2 separate regions of the Homo sapiens genome follow, and region 1 is linked to region 2. The links are contacts of gene promoters, found by promoter capture Hi-C in human tissues and cell types (Jung and others, 2019). All regions are on one chromosome and are shown on one strand. The core of a region is centred on a gene start or on the middle of the fragment in contact, and the rest is flanking DNA. Distances in the headings are between cores, read along the strand shown.

What was found. Contacts are between HindIII fragments. The study calls those that stand out against the background at their distance.
Region 1: a contact is called between a fragment that was not itself captured here and the fragment with the promoter of HYKK in region 2, in 4 of the 25 tissues and cell types used here (lymphoblastoid cells, mesenchymal stem cells, mesendoderm cells and 1 more).

Annotation. Positions count from the first base shown.
Region 1 is chr15:78,785,820-78,789,065 of GRCh38, reverse strand. ADAMTS7 (ADAM metallopeptidase with thrombospondin type 1 motif 7) reads left to right here. Exons shown (of 24, transcript NM_014272.5): 8 at 692-835. Among named protein-coding and RNA genes, the nearest start is that of ADAMTS7, 24 kb to the left of the region's middle. The HindIII fragment of the contact is 7,649 bases long and covers 1-3,246 here.
Region 2 is chr15:78,506,079-78,509,206 of GRCh38, reverse strand. It overlaps HYKK (hydroxylysine kinase), which reads right to left and starts at 1,630. Exons shown (of 5, transcript NM_001013619.4): 1 at 1,536-1,630. The HindIII fragment of the contact is 18,918 bases long and covers 1-3,128 here.

The sequences.
Region 1 (3,246 bases), core at 517-3,016, 280 kb before region 2:
TTCGTAGGCGATGGCCGTGCCTGCAGGACCTTGAAGCTGCTTATGGCTGCAGAAAGAACAGCCTGCCACAGTACTGCAATTTCCTGGCTGTGTTACCCTAGCTAGTTCCTTAGACTCTCTGAGCCTTCCTGAGGGTAATAATGAGAACTGAGTGAGATTGTGTTTCTGAAAGTGCTTAGCATGGCCCCTGGCACATAGTAGATGCTCAGGAAATAATTTTTCTTGTATCCTTCCCAAGGATGGTCTCTGGAGACCTTTCTGTGATACAGCAGCTCAGATCCCTTAACTCAAGTGCACAGCCTTGGGACAAGGACCTGTGAGTGGGAACCGCTGTCAGACTGTTCTTGAGGCCAGTGAGCTTGCAGGGGCCATCACGGGCCCACATCTGTGCCACCTGATTTGCCATTGCTGGCTGGCCCCCAGGCAGGGGCAGGGCTGCTCTGGGTCCCTGGCCCTCATTTCAGGCTGGAACAGGAGCCCTTGGGATACTAGCTGTCATACCCTCATTTTACATTCAGGAAACTGAGGCTCAGAGAGGGGAATGTGACTTTCTGCAGCCATTGGGTGCAGCCATTGGGTGGCAGAACCAGCCCTGGGAACTAGGACTGCGCACCTTGTGGGTGTCCAGGGGAGGGCAGGCTGGCAGCCTCCCGCCGGCTCACCCGCCCCTGGGGCCTGTGCTCTCACACAGTTTTGGCATTCAGCATGACGGAAGCGGCAATGACTGTGAGCCCGTTGGGAAACGACCTTTCATCATGTCTCCACAGCTCCTGTACGACGCCGCTCCCCTCACCTGGTCCCGCTGCAGCCGCCAGTATATCACCAGGTTCCTTGAGTAAGTCCCCCAGCCCTGGGCCCCTATACCTTGATCCATGAGGTCAAGGTCTACTGGGAGAGATGCAGACAGTCATACTGCAGGGCCGGGGTAGAGGGAAGCAGAGGGGCAAGATCTTGATACATGAGGTCAAGGTCTAATGGGGGTGATGCAGACAGTCACACTGCAGGGCCAGGGTAGAGGGAAACAGAGGGGCACCTGGCAAAGATGTGGTGCCGGCATCCCAAATGTCCTCCTGGAAGGAGGCTTGAACTTGGAGGAGGAGCAAGAATTCACACATGTGCAGAAGGGAGAAGAATGGTGTTCTTGGTAGAGGAAGCCTGAGAAAGGCCTGTAGCGGTAAAGGAGCGGGAGAGCTTTCAGGGAACGGCGGAACCCTGAGCAAGGCTATGGGAGCAAAGGCTGCGTAGGAAATGAAGCTGGAGGAGGTGAGGGACAGCCACAAGGTCCGGTCAGAGACAGGAAGAAGGGGCCATTAAGGGAACTGAAATACGAAGCTTTCTCCTTTTTTTTCATGTTCTCTTCATTTGTTCTGGTGTTTTTGTTGTTGTTGTTTGTTTGTTTTTTGAGACAGAGTCTCGCTGTGTTGCCCAGGCTGGAATGCAATGGCACGATCTTGACTCACTGCAACCTCCGCCTCCCGGGTTCAAGCGATTCTCCTGCCTCAGCCTCCTGAGTAGCTGGGACTACAGGCGTGTGCCACAACGGCTGGCTACTTTTTGTATTTTTAGTAGAGACGAGCTTTTGCCATGTTGGCCAGACTGGTCTTGAACTCGTGACCTCAGGTGATCCGCCCACCTTTGCCTCCCAGAGTGCTGGAATTACAGGCATGAGCGGTGCACCATGCCCGGCCTGTTCTGGTGTTTTTTTGTTTTTTTTTTTTCAAATTTGCTATTTAATGTTCTAAGTAAGAAAAAGTTTTAAATTTAAATTATTGGCATAAATTGTACCATTCATCTTTATTTTGTGCAGTGCCAGGTTTAAATGCAAATATGAGTATAGCTGACCCCAGAAGAACTCGGGGGTCAGGGGTGCTGACTCCTGTGCAATTGAAAATCCATGTATAACTTTCGACTCGCCCAAAACTGCTAATAGCCTACTGTTGACTGGAAGCCTTACTGATAACATAAACAGTTAACACATATTTTGTATGTTGTATATAATATATACTGTATTCTTACAATAAAGTAAGCTAGAGAAAAGCAAATGTTATTGAAATCATAAGGAAGAGAAAATATGTTCACTGCTCATTAAGTGGAAGTGGATATTCATTAAGTGGAAGAGGATCCTCATCCTCTTCATGTTGAGTAGGCTGAGGAGGGAGGAGAAAGGCAGGGGATGATCTCAGGGGTGGCAGAGGTGAAAAAAAATCCACATGTAAGTGGACCTGTGCAGTTCAAATCCATGTTGTTCAAAGGTGAGCTGTATTAACTTGTATGCAGAGTCACTGAAATTATACAATTCGTCTTTTGTAGCTCATATTTACCAGAGGATGAAACAGAATAAAATTATCTCAACTGGTTTCATCTCACTCCTTGGTATGTGCACATTCTACCCAGGCTGTCTACCTTTTCTTACCAATGAGGAAGGAAAGACTGAAAGGAGAAGGAACTGTGGGGTTCTCTTTCCTCCCGTGTCTTCATTTTCTGCATAGCGATTGGCTAATACAGGGGTGTTAACATGGGTAAGAAAGGATGATGGGGCACCTTGGTCATTGTCTTCTTTCTGCATTTGAAGTAAGTCTGGTTCAAATGGAAAATGCAGCCTCTGGGCCTGTCAGTGCTCTCCTGTCCCTTACTCAGTTGTTGACATAACATGTTTAACATCTAATTGCTTTGAGTCTCACCGAACTCCTACACATTATAGGTTCTGAGCTCATGGACCAAAGTAAATGTGAGATGCAAATGGGGCAGCAAGGAATGGTGGACACAGACATTGCCTGTGTCTCCTCTGCTCAGATACAGGCTCTTTTGTCCCATCAGACCTTGCTTACTGTCCGGACCTTGCTTGTGGTGGCTTATGCCTGTAATCCCAGCACTTTGGGAGGCTGAGGCAGGTGGATCACTTGAGGTCAGGAGTTCGAGACAAGCCTGGCCAACATGGTGAAACCCCTTCCCTACTGAAAATACAAAAATTAGCCAGGTGTGGTGGCGTGTGCCTGTAATCCCAGCTACTTGGGAAGCTGAGGCAGGAGAATCACTTGAACCCAGGAGGCGGAGGTTGCAGTGAGCCAAGATCGCGCCACTGCACTCCAACCTGGGCAACAAGAGCAAAAAAACTCCGTCTCAAAAAAAAAAAATAATAGAAGATGGCAACAGCAGAGCATTGTACACCTGCCCCACTTCTCCCCACCCTCCATTGCTTTTTTCTAGGCAACCACCTTCAAACTTAACATTGTTAGCTTTTTCTTG
Region 2 (3,128 bases), core at 381-2,880:
CTTTTTTCTTTATATAAGCGCTCCATATCATAGAACTAATGGCACAGATCAAGTCAACTCTTGAGAGTAAATAAAAACAAAGAAAAAAATATGTTTATCAGACATGTCTGTCTTAACCAAATGTCTCCTTTGTATGGAGGGGAATTTTTTTTTTTTTGTTTTTGAGACAAGGTCTCTGTCACCCAGTCTGGAGTACAGTGGCACAATCACTGCTTACTGCAGCTTCCAACTCCTGGGCTCAAGGGATCCTCCCACCTGAGCTTCCCAAATAGCTGGGACTGCAGGCAGGTGCCACCATGCCTGGCCTTTTTTTTTTTTTTTTTTTTGGAGAGAGAGGGTCCCACTATGTTGCCCAGGCTGGTCTCGAACTTCTGGGCTCAAGCAATCCTCCTACCTTGGTCTCCCAAAGTGCTGGGATTACAGGTGCAAGCCATCATGGCTGTCTTTTTGATTTTATTATTTTTATTTTTTTAGAGACAGTGTCTCGCTATGTTGCCCACTCACACATTTTTAAAAATTATTAACTTTTTTTCCTACTTCATTGAAAGGGAGAGGAGGAATTCAGGTACTATAGGCTGTTGGTCTATATATCCGGCCAACAGTATTTAGCTCCTGAAAAAGCCCGCAGGAAGCAAGTGTGATTTCCAACTCCAAGATCTGCGTCAGAATCTCACCACCTTTGTCCTGCAGCCGGGAGGGGGCTGGAACTTAAGCTCTGTACTTTGTGCAAAGTATACCAGACAAGAAACAGGAGTCATTCTTGATTCTTTCCTGTCCCTCACTCCCAACGTGTAACAAAGTCTAGTAAATTCTACCTTAGCATGTCTTCCAACTCTACCTTTCTTCTCCTACATTCCCTTTTGCTGCGTCCTTCCAAGGGATTATACCCAGTCAATCTCTGTATTCTCAGCCCCTAGGCTAGTCCCTTATTTAATATTAAATGGTGAACCAAGGGTGACCTTCATTCCACAGACTCACGGGGCAGTTCAACCCCAAGGGGATCATGAAACAGAAAGGTGGGGAATCTAGCATCTGCAGTTTTTCAAAGACAACAGTGCATTACTAGGTGCTTTTAAGGGTCTTCCTGGTGGGTGAAGGGGAAAAAGTGGTGGGTGAGCGGGCTGCAGAGGGGCTGCTGAACCAAGAGGCAGGAAAAGAGAGGAGGAGGGCGCATGAGTAAGTGAGGTTCAGCGGAGCTCAGAGACTGCTCCCAGTAGACACCGGCCAGGCGCCGGCACAGCCCTCGGCCAGCGACCCCACACAGACCCGGGAGGGCTGGCCTCGACAGCTTCTCGGGTGCCACGCTTTCATTCTGGGGGCCCAGCTCAGCCCTCCTAGGTTACAGGTGAGGTCCGGGAAGAAGGGTGACTTGCCCATCACGCACGCAGCGAGCTGAGGATAGCGCGGGCTGGAGGAGCCTGAGGCATAGGACTCCCGGCTCCACACTTGCAGCGAGCCTCCCTGCCCTCGGGGGCGACCCCGACTCCCGCAGCGGGGACGCAGGGCTCGTCTCTGCTTCCCCCTCCTTGGCTCACCGGCAGCGACCCGACGTCCTGGGGTGGATCCCGCTTTCCCGCAGACAGGTAGTGCGGCCTCGGCCGCGCACCGGCGCTAGGAGGTAGAGCAGGGGCCGCAGCGCCCGCGCCCCTCCTCCAAGCCCCGCGAGTCCTGACTTCTGATTGGCTCCTCCCGGTCCCTCGCCGCCCAGTCAGCGCAGACTACTGGATTTTTTTCCCGGCCCCGCCTAGGAGGCTGCGAACAGAAATTCAGAGATTCGGCTTCTGTTGACTTTCTGCAACTCCGCCCAGCCTTCTCACAGTGAGTATCCCAGTCAGAATCCGGCTACCTTTTCATGAACCGGACTCCTTATTCCTGATTGGCTCTCCGGGTTGCCGCCCCACCCCGAGTGGGCAGGCTTTCGGCTCTTGAGTGGCACCTCCGAGTTTCGCAGGGTCCACGTTGTCGTGGCGGTAACACTGACAGCTCCTCACCCGCATCCACGTTTTTGTTTCCTAGCCTTCATTCCTTCTGTTGGAGGCACGTATCCTGGAAGTGATACGCTTAGAAAGCGTGGCCCCAGAGAGACTCGCAATCCCAGCCCCAGGAACTGTAAGGGTCCTGATTGGAAGGCCTGAGTAAGGCCTGGCTGCGTTCCGCAGGAGGATGCTGGAATGTTAGAACCCGAACAGTTTAGGCAGGGCGCAGATGGCTCACGCCTGTAATCCCAGAAATTTGGGAGACCGAGGCGGGAGGATCACCTGAGGTCAGGAGTTCGAGACCAGCCTGGCCAACATGGTGAAACCCCTCTCTACTAAAAATACAAAAATTAGACTCAGGGGGTATGTCTGCAGCTGCAGAAAGATGTATGGGAACAGACACACAACTCTCCCTCCGAGATAAGCACAACAAAGAGACACAGAAGCAGTCCAAGCCTCTGATAAACTCTCCCACTCCGAATCCTTAAAAACTTACTTAGTCTGTAAGAGAGTGTGCCTCTGACCTAACTTGGCCAGACGCCCCTCTCAGGTTTTCTCTAAAATAAACCTCTTATGACCACCAAGCCACTTTTCGTGTTTCTTTCCTCTTTCTTTAATTCTTACACCGAGTAGTTGGGATTACAGGGGCCCACCACCACGCCTTTATCTAGGTAGTGGAATCAGTGGGCTCTCTTTCTGCAGGAAAGTCCGCAGAGACCCCATGATTTTCAGAAAGCTGCACGAGATTCATGGAGTAACAGCCAGGTTAGTTGGATGGTCTTAACTGTTAAGGGCATGAGGCGCTGATAAACAGCTTGATGCCCTTCTCCAGCCAAGCAGGACTTCTCCGATAAGTCAGAGCCCTCTATCTACTGTAGGCTACTGGAAGAGAGTCCTGGGTACTGGTCCACTCATGCCTGCAAATTGGTTTCTTATTTTGTTTTTGCCAATGCACATCCACCCTTTGTTTTCTGTCAGGATATAACACACTCGGATTATCTATAGTCACCCTGATTAACTTGGATGATTCCCAGACCCCTATCAACCACCTACTGAGGGAAGCTTCTTCTCCTGCTTTAGATATGGTTCTTACCTGCTTCACTTCTAATCTCCAAAAGGCAGGGCTGTTTTTCACAACCCCAGGGGAACATA